Linked DNA regions of Homo sapiens: regions 2, 3, 4 and 5 are each linked to region 1. The links are contacts of gene promoters, found by promoter capture Hi-C in blood cells and fetal thymus (Javierre and others, 2016). All regions are on one chromosome and are shown on one strand. The core of a region is centred on a gene start or on the middle of the fragment in contact, and the rest is flanking DNA. Distances in the headings are between cores, read along the strand shown. Region 1 holds the start of RPP40 (ribonuclease P/MRP subunit p40). Region 2 holds the start of SSR1 (signal sequence receptor subunit 1). Region 3 overlaps RIOK1 (RIO kinase 1). Region 4 overlaps SNRNP48 (small nuclear ribonucleoprotein U11/U12 subunit 48). Region 5 overlaps DSP (desmoplakin).

The links. The method cuts DNA at HindIII sites, captures the fragments that hold promoters and counts their contacts. A CHiCAGO score of 5 or more calls a contact.
Region 2: a fragment that was not itself captured here is called in contact with the fragment with the promoter of RPP40 in region 1 in 4 of 17 cell types (non-activated CD4 T cells, neutrophils, total CD8 T cells and 1 more); the score reaches 8.9 in non-activated CD4 T cells.
Region 3: a fragment that was not itself captured here is called in contact with the fragment with the promoter of RPP40 in region 1 in 2 of 17 cell types (non-activated CD4 T cells and total CD8 T cells); the score reaches 9.5 in non-activated CD4 T cells.
Region 4: a contact is called between a fragment that was not itself captured here and the fragment with the promoter of RPP40 in region 1, in 1 of 17 cell types (activated CD4 T cells). The highest score is 5.0, in activated CD4 T cells.
Region 5: a fragment that was not itself captured here is called in contact with the fragment with the promoter of RPP40 in region 1 in 3 of 17 cell types (non-activated CD4 T cells, naive CD4 T cells and activated CD4 T cells); the score reaches 8.3 in non-activated CD4 T cells.

Annotation. Positions count from the first base shown.
Region 1 is chr6:5,002,722-5,005,460 of GRCh38, forward strand. It overlaps RPP40 (ribonuclease P/MRP subunit p40), which reads right to left and starts at 1,316. Exons shown (of 8, transcript NM_006638.4): 1 at 1,159-1,316. The coding sequence starts at 1,281. LYRM4-AS1 (LYRM4 antisense RNA 1) reads left to right here and starts at 1,095. Exons shown (of 4, transcript NR_126015.1): 1 at 1,095-1,238. RefSeq lists silencers at 917-1,166, 1,297-1,426. The HindIII fragment of the contact is 5,117 bases long and covers 1-2,739 here.
Region 2 is chr6:7,311,727-7,314,426 of GRCh38, forward strand. SSR1 (signal sequence receptor subunit 1) reads right to left here and starts at 1,473. Exons shown (of 8, transcript NM_003144.5): 1 at 1,316-1,473. The coding sequence starts at 1,394. RefSeq lists enhancers at 637-1,505, 1,506-2,372, 1,709-1,778, 1,789-1,848 and silencers at 929-978, 1,109-1,218. The HindIII fragment of the contact is 2,424 bases long and covers 183-2,606 here.
Region 3 is chr6:7,390,492-7,393,295 of GRCh38, forward strand. It overlaps RIOK1 (RIO kinase 1), which reads left to right. Exons shown (of 17, transcript NM_031480.3): 2 at 2,608-2,804. Among named protein-coding and RNA genes, the nearest start is that of RIOK1, 2.1 kb to the left of the region's middle. The HindIII fragment of the contact is 1,019 bases long and covers 1,004-2,022 here.
Region 4 is chr6:7,604,574-7,607,273 of GRCh38, forward strand. SNRNP48 (small nuclear ribonucleoprotein U11/U12 subunit 48) reads left to right here. Exons shown (of 9, transcript NM_152551.4): 7 at 825-913; 8 at 1,458-1,622. Among named protein-coding and RNA genes, the nearest start is that of SNRNP48, 16 kb to the left of the region's middle. The HindIII fragment of the contact is 3,945 bases long and covers 1-2,700 here.
Region 5 is chr6:7,585,746-7,588,648 of GRCh38, forward strand. It overlaps DSP (desmoplakin), which reads left to right. Exons shown (of 24, transcript NM_004415.4): 24 at 1-969. The coding sequence ends at 133. Among named protein-coding and RNA genes, the nearest start is that of SNRNP48, 3.0 kb to the right of the region's middle. The HindIII fragment of the contact is 3,159 bases long and covers 62-2,903 here.

The DNA of each region.
Region 1 (2,739 bases), core at 66-2,565:
GTATGTTTTCATTTTCGAGACAGAAAAATGCAACAGGCGAGTTAAAGTATACATCCCTGACTGCTGTGATGAGCTTGACATCCAAAATAGGTGTTAAAAACAGGGCAGGCTTCAAATGTTGCCACATTGTAAAAGTCATCACTGTCCCAAGGCTCAAACACCAGCCTGTTCTGACTGATCAGGTCACCACTTAACATCTCTGAAACACTGCTCAGTCAAACCTGAGTTATTAAGCTGATCCATTTAAAGTGTAAAATGTTTAATCCCCCATGATAAGGTTAGTTTCTTGAAGTCTCTCAGATATCAAATTAGTTCCAACAACCAATTTAGAAAATCAGTCGCTTCGGCCGGGCGCGGTGGCTCACGCCTGTAATCCCAGCACTTTGGGAGGCCGAGACGGGCGGATCACGAGGTCAGGAGATCGAGACCATCCTGGCTAACACGGTGAAACCTCGTCTCTACTAAAAATACAAAAATTAGCCGGGCGTGGTGGCGCGCGCCTGTAGACCCAGCTACACGGGAGGCTGAGGCAGGAGAATGGCGTGAACCCGGGAGGCGGAGCCTGCAGTGAGCCGAGATCGCGCCACTGCACTCCAGCCTGGGCGACAGAGCGAAACTCCGTCTAAAAAAAAAAAAAAAAAAAAAAGGAAAATCAGTCGCTTCCTGGGCCGAGCCTAGGCAGGATGCTCTGGTGAGATCCACAGGTACGCAGGTGGGAGAGGGATTCAAGCTGGGGAGGAGGCAGTGGTGGGGAGGAGGCGCGAGACCCGCCCTGATTTGGGGAAAAAGCGAGGTGCACGTGGCTGCCCCACAGCCTAACTCCCTGGTCCCGGCCCTGAACCTCGAATCCCTCCCTGGACTCACTCCCAGTTCGGCGGGTTGACACGAGTGAGCAGCCAGAACGCCCCTGACAACAGCTCCCTCCAGACTGGGTACCGCCCCCACGCCCGGCGCATCCTGGGAGTTGTAGTCCTGTAGCCCTGCAAGCCACTGGCTTAGAGCAGTTAAGAGACTACAACTCCCAGCAAGCCGGGCGAGGGCCCCGCCCCTCCGCGTACCGCCGGCGGCCCCGCCCCGCGAAGCCTAGCACTCTCCCCAAACCTCTCTCGCACGCGGGGACTGAGCACGGCCCGAAAAGCCGAGGACAGCCGGACTCACCCTGTAGTTATAGTAGTGCGTCTGCACAAGATGCCGGTGGCGCGACTTGTGGTTGCCGAAGTTGGATTTCTCGCAAACCAGTAAGTGCCGCGGCGCCTCCCGAAGCCGGCGCAGCGTGGCCATGCTCTCCTGGGTTCCTGGTCCTCCCGGCCTCCGCTGGCGGGGCACGCCCCGCCCCTTCCTCCCGCCCCGCCCCTTCCCTCCGGCCGCATACCCGCTGCTGTGCGCCCCTGGCGGCGGTGGAGTGGGGATGGCGGCGCTGGATTTCTGAGCAGTTCTTAGACTTCTTAGGAGCCCACGCAGCCGCTCTTTGGTGGATGTCTGAAGCTGTAAATTCACTGTCCCAGTGGCTGGGAACCTGGCTCTTGCCTTTTCAACGCCACTTTTCCTCCGTCCCCGCCATCCCTTGGAATTGCCCTAAACCCTCTCTGTGGGCCCCGCCTCGGAGCGCCCCTTGGACCCCAGCCTGGCGCCGGCGCATACCTCGGTCAGGCCCCTCAGAGGGACCGCTTCCTGCCACCGTTATAAAAGGAAAACATCGCATGGAAAGGCCCAGTTCCTTTAGTATATGGTCAAGAAATGTAGCCGCACAGTTAAGTAACCCCCTAAGCTGCTTTGGGGGCCACACCCAGCTGCTTTCTGACTTCTCACACTGTTTGGTTCACAGGACTCTGTTACCCATTGGGGACCTCTTGGCCATTATTAACACAGGCCAACAGGACTAAAAGTTTGTATCAGTCCTTCCCAAAACATTAGGGAAGGTTGTGCGGGAAGGTAAAGCACAATTTTTGCCTTACAATAGGACTCCTTTGAAACTACTATTGAGTTCCCTTTTAAATAGCCCTTCAGAACCGCTTTTAATAATGTGTTGTTTCTGGGGGTTAATAGTGATAATTCTCCTAAGTCATTTTTCCATTTCGTTTTTCTGTCACGGGCTTGGAGCGGTTAAGAGACTGCGGCTCCCAGCATGCGGTACGTTACTGATCAGGGCAAAATCAAGTATGTTACTACATGCTTCTCAAACTAGAGAGGCACAGCCCCAATTCTGCACTGGCAGGATACAAAACAGCAGAATATTGGTGATACATCTTCCTGGAACATCAGTTTTTCTATGAGATGTGGAAGAAATGGAATTAAGTAGTTTACAAGGTAAATAATTAAGAATTTAAAACTAAGCCAGTCACAGTGGGTCATGCCTGTAATCCCAGCACTTTGGGAGGCTGAGGTGGGAGGATCACTTGAGCTTAGGAGTTCAAGACCAGCCTGGGCAATATAGTGAGACCCCATCTCCAAAAATAAAAATAAAACTAAGACAAGGCTGGAAAGTCATCTGCCATTATAAACATCAGTAATCTGGCCGAGCACAGTGGCTCACGCCTGTAGTCCCAGCACTTTGGGAGGCTGAGGTGGGAGGATCACTTGAACTCAGAAGTTCACGACCACCCTGGACAATATAGTAAGACCCCATCTCAAAAAAAAAAATTAAAACTAAGACAAGGCCGGAAAGTCATCTGCCACTAAAAACATCGGTAATCTGGCTGAGTGCTGTGGCTCACGCCTGTAGTCCCAGCAATTTGGGAG
Region 2 (2,700 bases), core at 145-2,644, 2.3 Mb after region 1:
GTCTAACAGTCTTCATTCAACTGGAAAAACCAAACACAAAAACCGTTTCTCACAAAAAATGTTTACAAGATATTAATTCAGTTTAGATAATGAATTCATGCTTCTTGAAAGTTTTTATAACTTGAAAATAGTTATAAATAGTTCTAAAACTAAAACTACATTTGTCAAGTTTTCTTTTAAAAAGCTTAAAGAGTACCAGCAAACGACTCCTAAAGTAAAAAATCTTGTTAAACCTGCAGATTAACTCATTAACAGTTGTTTAATTCTCCCACTTGGTTTTCTAGCCATTAAACAGAAGCCAGTCACTTCACTTTTCATCGCAAAACAACTCGTGAATACCTGTCACTACCGTTAAGACACACAGCTTGCTTAAACTTACAGAATGAAAGGGATGCTTAGTCAGACTAATTATTTCACTTTACAAATTAGAAAGTCGAAGTTCACGACAAAACCTGTGCAGGAAGTCAAGTTGCCATATTTTTATATTCTGCTAAGTTATTTTCACACTTAATTGCTGGGTTAATTGTTGAAAGAATAAATCTATGTATTAAAAACACTCGAAGTAGGCCACATTTTTTCAGCACAATACGATGTTTCCACAAACAAAAAATTGTTCCATGGAAAGACAAGAAGAGGAAGAAGGCAGAAGGGAGACATCCCACAGGGATTCTTCAGTCTGCTTGGCAGCAGGGGCGGATAACGGGGGTGACGATGGGGTAGTTTTTCTGAAATCAAGCCTCCTAGTAACACATACGGGTCAAGCAGGGCGTGAACAAGGCAGATGACCATTGAACAAGACACTCTGATGGCTTAGATGTGTAGAAAACAAGGGTTTTGGCAAATGAATGAAGACGGACTCCCGGCGTGGAAGCTAAAGACACGTCAGCCCTGAGCGCGAGGGGCTGGGGGTGGAGCGGAGCCGGAGGTGGCCAAAAGAAACAGCCCGGCTGCGGCGCGCTCGGAGCGCAGCCGTGTCCAGCGCCTCCTCCTGCAGCCGAGGACCCTCCAGTTCTGGCCGCTCCTGCAGGCGAGGGTCCAGGGCAAGAGGAGCAAGCCCAGCCCTCGGCCGGCCACGAAGCAAGGTCGCCCGGGCACGGCCCCGCGCTCCGCGTGCAAGGGGCAGGCCGCAGCGGGGTCTCCAGCGCCCGCGGGGACCCCTGCTGCTACGAGCCTAGGCTTGGGGAGAGGGCGGAGAGAGGCCAGCGGGGTGGACGCGGACCCCAGGACCCGGAGCGGCCACCGCCTCCAACTTCAAACTTGCCATCACTGGCATCTCCTTCCTGGCCATCCCCTCCGCACACTCCCCCAGCCTCACCTCTGGGGCCGCCTCGGAACAAGACAGTGGCAGGGAACACGAGTAAGAGAAGCAGCAGCAAGCGGGGGAGGAGTCTCATGGCGCTGCCGGTCCAGTGTCCAGTTTCCGTCGGCTAAGGCTCTCGGCGGCTCCGGCGGTAATGGCGTTACTCTTCATCCGGGCTCCGGGCAGCGAGGGGCGGGACACGTACCGCGCACGGGCCTTTGCCACGCCCCTCCCTGGACCAGGGACCGCCGCCGACGTGGCTGCTCAGCGCGGAGAGGTGGGGAGAGCAGGCCACCGGGAAGTCACGTGGCCGGCTGCTGCCTCTTTGTGGCTCCCGCGAGAGTCCGCCTTCCGCCGCAGTTGCGACCCGGCAGCTTGCGGTTAGCCGTTCTTTCCGCCCAGTTCTTTACTTCCAATTAATTAGCATTGTCAGTGGTTACTTTATTTGAATGACGATCCTCTTGATAACGGCGATGTAAGGAACATGAGCTGCCTTTATGTGGCACTTAAAAGCAAAAAATTTTGTTGGAAGAGAGGACATTGTTCAAAGGAAAAACCATGAAAATACACAGTGGAAAATCTTTGTCCCCTGTCTGCCCACACCCTCTCCCATGGTTAAGTAATGACAATTCTTAAATTATTATTTTTGAGACGAAGTCTTGCTCTGTCGCCCAGGCCAGAGTTCAGTGGCACCATCTCTGTTCACCGCAACCTCCGCCTCCCGGGTTCAAGCGATTCTCCCGCCTCAGCCTCCTAAGCAGCTGGGACTACAGGCGCGCACCACTACGCCCGGCTAATTTTTGTATTTTTACTGGAGACGGGGGTTTCACCATGTTGGCCAGACTAATCTCAAACTCCTGACCTCAGGTGATCCACCCGCCTGGGTCTCTCAAAGTGCTGGGATTACAGGTGTGAGCCACTGCGCCTGGCCAGCAATTCTTAAATTCGTATGTGACATTCCAGAATTATAAGTCACCTAAACAGTGTTTTGGTATGTAGTCAGCATTTGTAACTATACAATAGGTGCAGCAATGGCTGTCCAGTTTTCTTTAGTTTCCTTTTCATCTATTTTGGATTTGAGTTGCTGGAGTAATATAGCAGTTCATGAAATTAATCTGAATATTAAGTAATCTTGGTCTGGACCAGAGTGAGATGTCATAAAGATGAGGAAATAAATCATATGCTTACTATTGTCAATCACCTCCTTAGAGCTGTGCTTTTTCATTTAATTTTCTAAACCTCTCTATGAGCTGGATATTATTTACTGAGGAGAAAACAGACCCAGAGAGGTTAGTAATTTACTCAAAGCTTCAAAACGCTAGCAAACGGCAGATGCAAGATTTGAACAAGGCTATCTGGTTCCAGATTCCATACACTACTGACCTAGGACATTTGCTGTT
Region 3 (2,804 bases), core at 263-2,762, 2.4 Mb after region 1:
GAGGGCACACCATTTAAAAACCAAATAATGATGTAGACTATGCAAATCGTTTGATATACCAAGTGGTGACTGAATGGGTAGGGAAAGGTTAAGTCCAGATTTGAATGACAAGGAGCTAATCCTGGCAAGAGCAGAGGGAACAGCATTTCACACAGAAGGGACAGCAAGAGCAAAGGCCCCGAGGCCAGAGTGCCTAGAGCACAGTGGAGGTAGTTGAGAAGATTGGTAGGGTGATAGAGAAGTAAGAAGGGGGGCCAGATCATGGAGACCTTTACAAGTGATGGTGAAAAGTTCAGATATTAATGTGGGTCTTATGGAAAGCCATAGGAGGGATTTTAGCAGAAGAATGACATTATTTGCTTGGTGATTTAAAGGAATCATTCTTTCTAGGTAGATGATGTTCATGGAGGGTGGGAGTGGAACAGAGAGACCAGTTCAAAAATAATAAGGTAATCAGATTCAAAGATGGTGGGGACTAGAGCCCAGATCCTAAAGATATGTCTTGGAGGTAGAAGTGGCAGCGTTTGGTGGTAGACTGGACGTGGAGTCTGGGGAAAGAGGGATGAAGGATAACTCCTGCCTAAAAGCAAAATGAAACATATTGGAGTTATTTTGGAATTCCAAGAAAACAGCTTGTACTTTATGTTTACAGTAAGGATTCATCACATGCGGATTTTGTTAATTATTGGGGATGTTTTCAATAAATATATGTATGTTGAATGCTTTCTGTGAGTCAGATCTAGTCTTAGGTGGTAGGGAGGCATTGGTAAATACCATCCTGAATGACACAGAGCTTGCACCCTAGCAGGGGAAACCGATATTATTAAATAATTAGACTATTTGTATTCGAATTGGGTAAGTAGTACAAAGGAGAAGTGGGGGAAAAATAGGGAAGACTTCCTTGAGCAAGTGATAGTGAGCTGATACTTGATGGATGAGTAGGGGTTAGCCAGAGAAAGAGGAAGGGCATTCCAGTTTTATGGTTACGGAGAAGTGTACAAAAAGCTTTAGAGAAGAAAAGCAGCAGAAGAAACACAGCCAGCATAGCTAGTGGGTAGTTAATGGTAATGAGAGGGCACTAATTTACCATCCACCCCAGGGTATTGTAAGGATACACCAGTGATTTTCCATTGGGGAAGATGTTGCCATCCCGACTTCTACCCAGGGGACTTTTGGCAATTTCTGGAGACGTTTTTGTATGTCACAGCTGGGGGTGGTGGTACATTAGTGGCATCTGGTAAGTAGAGGCCAGAGATATGCTGCTAAAAATCCTACAGTGCAGAAGACAGTCCCCCACAACGAAGAATTATCTGGCAAAGTTACAACTTTAACATGCCACTCTAGGCAATTATATATCAATCTGTGGAGCATATGTATGAAGTCCTGGTAAGTAGCAAGTGTTTGATGATTGTCTGTTTTCTTCCTCCACATGTCCACGGGGAACCCTCAGAGCCATGGCTAATTAATAAATTGGGATTGATAATCTGAATTTACTTAAACTCGTCTGTTTTTCAGCTGGTATCTCATATTATCAGCTGCTTTTTTATGGTTTCTGTCCTTTTCTGTACATGAGAGGTAAAAACTGAGTCCTCTGTTGAATTTGGCCTGCAGACATGTTTTGTTTGGTATGCACAATTATTTGTAAAAATTGACTATGCCAGTGAAGGGATAGATTTTACACAGAAATCCAGACTTACAGCTTCACTTGAAAAATTAAGATCTGGTAACACTAGGCCTGAATTCTAATATGGCAAAAAAAAAAAAAAAAAAAGCCCTTACTGGTTGTGCTCCCTTTACCTTGGACCTCTTCTCCCAGTTTGCCAGTCCCCACTTCTATTGTGCAGCCTACTTCTCTCATTTGTAGTGCCTGGTCCCTGTATTCACCATTTCTTCCCATCATGAACAGGGATGATTTGGATTTCTTTGTGGAACACAAATCTTGATGTAACTTCTTTTATTGCAAAGTGTTATCGAGTTCAAAGTAAGACTGCCTTAGACTTATTCCCAAATTTTTTGTCAGAAAGCTTTTTTTTTTTTTTAATTACAATTTTTTTTAGAGACAGGGTTGCCCAAGCTGGAGTACAGTGGCACGATCATGACTCACTGCAGCCGTGAACTCCTGGGCTCAAGCAATCCTATGGCCTCAGCCTCCCGAGTAGCTGGGATCAAAGGTGTGAACCGCTGCACCAGCCTTTTTTCCCCCTTTCTTTTTTCTTGTTTTACAGAAAGATTTTCCTAGAGATTTTCTAAAGCAGCTCTGCGAATGATTTTCCTAGAGTCAAGTCTGGTATACTGGTCTGAGTTGTTTATTCAGCAGAGAAGATAACAATATAATTTCTAACTTTAACAAGGCAGAAGCAGATTTAACTTGATGTGCTTCTTGAATAGTAGGCTTTGGGCATGGAGAATGAGCAAACAACTGCAACAGAACTGGAAAACAGGAGAACATGGTTTTAAGGAGATGGAGCTTATCGGAAGGTGTATTTTATATAAATATATAATCTTTTAGATTTATCAATATTTTAATATCTTACATCATAAATATGTGAGATCAGTTAGGGTATGTGGAAATATTGTTATGAAATAATAAAACATTGTTATTTCTAGTGAAAACAGAGACTTGAAGACAGTCAAAGAGAAGGATGACATTCTGTTTGAAGACCTTCAAGACAATGTGAATGAGAATGGTGAAGGTGAAATAGAAGATGAGGAGGAGGAGGGTTATGACGATGATGATGATGACTGGGACTGGGATGAAGGAGTTGGAAAACTCGCCAAGGGTTATGTCTGGAATGGAGGAAGCA
Region 4 (2,700 bases), core at 29-2,528, 2.6 Mb after region 1:
CTGAATGAATAGTGTTTCTGAGATTGCCCCGTGTCCCCTATACCTTTTTTCTGAAAACATTTTCTATTTAATCATGAGGGAAGTGTAAACTCCTATTTTAGTTTTGTCTTTGCCTCTGCAGTGACTAACCCTGTGCTTGGTGGCATGGGTAAATAGGAAAGGAAAAACTTTCAAGTGGTTTTTACCTATTTGAAAGTTTCTTTATAGAGTCATTCAGAAAGTATCTGTGAAGTGACTGTATGTTTCATATTTTGTCTTATTAAGTCATATGATTAAGTCAAGATGACTTAATTATAAGGTTTTAAAAAAATCATTTGTAAATAAGCTCTAATAGAGAGATAAATTGCAAAACTAAAAATAGTACCAAGAACTCCCATATTGTCTTTACCCAGATCACCCATTGTTAGCATTTTGCCACATAGCTTCTCATTGGCACTCTCTCTCTCTCTCTCTGCACATTTTTCACTCTCTCGATCTCGATCTGTACATATTTTTTTCCCCTGAATTCTTTAAGGGTTAAATTACATACCTCATAACCCTTTATCCCCAGTATGTATTTCCTAAGAACAGAGATATTTTCTCACATAAAGGTAGTACAGTTATAGCAACTTCAAATTTAATATTGCTGTAAAACTTTTATCTACTATTCATATTCCAGTTTGACCATTGCCTTTTCTGTGTTCTCTAAACTGCACAAGTCCCACAGTCAATTATGTCATAGCACTTAGTAAATATTTGATTGTTAGCACTGATTTTTCTAGCGTTACAGTCTTAATTTTTTGAGCAGTTTTCTTACCTGAAGTTCGGTGCTTACCTCTCCCAAGGTGATTCGAGATGTGATAAATGTGCACATGGAAGAACTCAGCAATCATTGGCAAGAAGAGCAAGAGAAGGCAGAGGATGATGCCGAAAAGTACGTCATTATCTTTATTGGTGAAAATACTCTCTCTTTGATAACAGATAACAATTAACTTATAATTGTTAAATTTTAGCATTTCCAAAACCCTTGATAGCACACAGTAAACTCGTGAAAATGCTTTTTGTTTTTCGTTGTCAGTGCCCAGGGTTATTGTACCAGAGTTGTTCTGACATTACCCTTTGACAGTTTTCAGGGGATAGCCATATTAGTGAAATATTCAAATAGCAAAACATACTAACATTTATGCCTAGTATTCCATTATGGGAACACCAAGCATGTGGGAGTTATTTATGTCCTACTGCTCAAGGTCATCGCCAAGGTCTCATTGCAAAAATTAAAAAAATTGCAACCTCAGGCATAAATGGGTTAAGAGCTGTGTTTATTTGTCCTTTTATATGGGTTATAAGATTGTGCATATTTAGACCATATCTACCATTGGTTTGATATAGAATATTACACTTTAGACTGGTGTGTCTGTGTACGTATACTGGAGACCAGTGGTAACACAAACTGATTAACATTCTTTTCTGTGTTTTAGGAATGAAGAAAGGCGATCAGCTTCAGTAGATTCACGGCAGTCTGGTGGAAGCTATTTGGATGCTGAGTGTTCACGACATAGAAGGGATAGGAGTAGAAGCCCACATAAAAGAAAAAGAAACAAAGATAAGGATAAAAACTGTGAGTCGAGAAGAAGGAAAGAGAGGTGGGTCTAACCCTGCATCATCCAACGTTGAATTCTGTACTTTTTAAAAATAGAACAGGTTCTTCTGTTGTAGACCATGCTGAGAAAATAGATTTTAAGAATAAGCTAAAGTAAGGAGAGTAAACAATTGACGATGATTCTTAACATTCATTATAGTTCAGTTCAAATAACCACCACTCTAGTGACATAGATCTCTACATGCGTGATTGGATGTTTTTTTCCCTTTTTTATCTCTTACTTGCTTGCTTCCTAAACAGGACATATGAAAGTATTGTCTAGGCAGGACATTAACTGTTAAACACGGTTTTCCCAGATCCCTTTCTTCTGCTCATTCCTTCCTTCCTCTTTCTCTTATTCTTTCTTTCTTTTTCCTGCTAATTCCTCAAATAAGGGTATGTAGGGTCAGAGAGAACATCTAAATTTTGACAGTCAATTTTGCCTTTGTTAGTAAAATTTTGATAGCTTGAGAGATGTGAATTAATACCGAATTAGTAAATGTAAATCATTTGAGGTCTATTTCTGTAGTCCAGCTGCTTACAAGGCATGTACCTGGATCTCAAGTTCATCAGGTCTAGAACTAAACTTACCTTTTTCTCAATCTGCTCCTCTTTCCCCAGCATTACTGTCCTGGTTAAAGAGATGACTCTCATCTATTAACCTAAGCCAGAAATCAAGGAGTCATTTTAGATACTTCCTTCCACTCCTTATCATCTGGTCAGTTCCTAATGAAATGATGGTCATTTTCCTAATTTTTCTACTTGTCTCTAAATTTACTGCATATGATTCCATTCCCTTGTATACTGCTAGAGTGAATAGTCACCTCATAGAACTCTTCCGTGGCGGTCTGGCATGGTGGCTCATGCCTATAATCCCTACACTGTGGGAGGCTGAGGCAGGTGATCACTTGAGCTCAGGAGCTCAAGGCCAGCCCGGGCAACCTGGCAAAACCTCGTCTCTACAAAGAATACAAAGATTAGCCGGGTGTGGTGGTGCATACCTGTGGTCCTAGCCACTTGTGGGGCTGAAGCAGGAAGATTGCTTGAGCCTGAGAGGTTGAGGCTGCAGTGAGCCGTGTTCT
Region 5 (2,903 bases), core at 391-2,890, 2.6 Mb after region 1:
CTCCCGCTCGGGATCTCGCTCCGGATCTCGCTCCGGGTCCCGCAGTGGGTCCCGGAGAGGAAGCTTTGACGCCACAGGGAATTCTTCCTACTCTTATTCCTACTCATTTAGCAGTAGTTCTATTGGGCACTAGTAGTCAGTTGGGAGTGGTTGCTATACCTTGACTTCATTTATATGAATTTCCACTTTATTAAATAATAGAAAAGAAAATCCCGGTGCTTGCAGTAGAGTGATAGGACATTCTATGCTTACAGAAAATATAGCCATGATTGAAATCAAATAGTAAAGGCTGTTCTGGCTTTTTATCTTCTTAGCTCATCTTAAATAAGCAGTACACTTGGATGCAGTGCGTCTGAAGTGCTAATCAGTTGTAACAATAGCACAAATCGAACTTAGGATTTGTTTCTTCTCTTCTGTGTTTCGATTTTTGATCAATTCTTTAATTTTGGAAGCCTATAATACAGTTTTCTATTCTTGGAGATAAAAATTAAATGGATCACTGATATTTTAGTCATTCTGCTTCTCATCTAAATATTTCCATATTCTGTATTAGGAGAAAATTACCCTCCCAGCACCAGCCCCCCTCTCAAACCCCCAACCCAAAACCAAGCATTTTGGAATGAGTCTCCTTTAGTTTCAGAGTGTGGATTGTATAACCCATATACTCTTCGATGTACTTGTTTGGTTTGGTATTAATTTGACTGTGCATGACAGCGGCAATCTTTTCTTTGGTCAAAGTTTTCTGTTTATTTTGCTTGTCATATTCGATGTACTTTAAGGTGTCTTTATGAAGTTTGCTATTCTGGCAATAAACTTTTAGACTTTTGAAGTGTTTGTGTTTTAATTTAATATGTTTATAAGCATGTATAAACATTTAGCATATTTTTATCATAGGTCTAAAAATATTTGTTTACTAAATACCTGTGAAGAAATACCATTAAAAAACTATTTGGTTCTGAATTCTTACTAGAAGGTGGTCTTTTGAAGTTAGTCCTTTCGGTACTTCTCAGATGCCTGTCATGTACCCGATGGAGTCCTTGGAAAGAAGGCCTGTGTAAAGAGGCCAGCCTGGAGGTCAATAACCTGTTCTAGTTTATTCTGGACATTGAGTACCAAGTAGCATTGGCAAAAGTCATCATCATAGCATTGAAAAAACATGAAGTTGCTAAGATGCTTTTTGGGTATCCTCAAAATAGATAGTGTTTCACTTTGTCCCGTAAGAGGAAAGAATTGTCCTGGAACCCATGAAAATGATTTCTGAAGAGTTCTTGGCTCTCTGTTGAAGGACAAGGAAGTATAAGCCTATTCCTTTGGATCAAAGAGAAACTACTGAAATTCACACATTTGTCATTAGATTAACATGACTTCACTGAATACCCACCATGTCTAGTATTGGGTTAGGTACTATGAAGACTGAGTAGAATTTACAAGCCCCCGACAACAAAGCATTGGCAATATGGGTGGGGACAGAAACAGATAAAGCAATCAGTGGGACAACTTTCAAATGTCAGCAGTATATATTAATACAAATTTTATAGTACAGATAGAAAATAGGAAAACATGCTAATTGTATAGAACAAAAATCAAGATTAGATTAATTATTGGGGGCTTTTGGTACTTAGGGTGAAAGTCACCTCCATTCTCATTGCATGGGCTATTTTTCCTCCACAGCACTCTTTTCTTCCTTATTTCACCTCTTCTTCCTTACTCCCTCTCCTAATTTGGAGGAGTTGAAATTAATTTTATGCATTAAATACTGAGTTCGCGTGCCATGCATTGTGCCAGAAGCCATGGAGTCTGTGCTAGAAATACATGGTGAAAAAGAGCCCTCATAATCCAAAAGGAAGAAGAAAATGTGGTAAATGCTGTATTGGGAAAAATGAAGGAAATTCCTTATGCTAGAGCTGGGAGACTATATTAGTCACCTCACCCTGCCATAACAAGATGCCACAGACTGTGAGCGGCTTAAACGGAAGTGTATTTTCTCACAGTTCTGGAAGCTAAAAGTACAAGCTCAAGATGCAGGCAGGGCTGGTTTCTAGTGAAACCTGGCTCATGGGTGGCTATCAGTCTTATCTGATTAGAGTACCCACCCCTCCTTTATGACCTCATTTAACTTTAATTACCTCTTAGGGCTCTATCTCCTTATACAGTCACATTGTGGGTTGGTACTTCAACATAGGCATTTTTGAGGGACTCAATCCAATCCATAACAGAGGCCTAGCCTAGAACAGGAGTCTGGAGACCACTCCAGGAAAGTGATATCAAAACAGATCAGCAGCATCAGTGTAGAGCAGTTCCTCGGGCTGAAACAGTAACTAGAGAGTACAGTCAATTGACAAATCTTTCCTACTCCCTCCAGGCTTGTGCCAATGTTGTCATGAAGCTCTGAGATGACATGGGGCTGTATCCTGAAGAGAGGATATGTTTGACGTGGGCTAAGTTTTAATTTGGTTCACATATACAAACAGGGAAATATACACTAGAACTTTTTATCAGGAGTCATGTCACATCAGAAATAGTCTCACATTTTTCCAGACCAACCAGCTAACTATGGAAATGCAAATAAAAAGTAAGGATACCGGGCTGGGCGCGGTGGCTCACGTCTGTAATCCCAGCACTTTGGGAGGCTGAGGCGAGCAGATCACAAGGTCAGGAGTTCGAGACCAGCCTGGCCAATATGGTGAAACCCCATCTCTATTAAAAATAGAAAAATTAGCAGGGTGTGGTGGCATGTGCCTGTAGTCCCAGCTACTCGGGAGGCTGTGGCAGAAGAATTGCTTGAACCCGGGAGATGGAGGTTGCAGTGAGCTGAGATTGCGCCACTGCACTCCAGCCTGGGTGGCAGAGCCAGACTCCGTCTCAAAAAAAAAAAAAAAAAGATACTGTAGGCAGAGTATGAA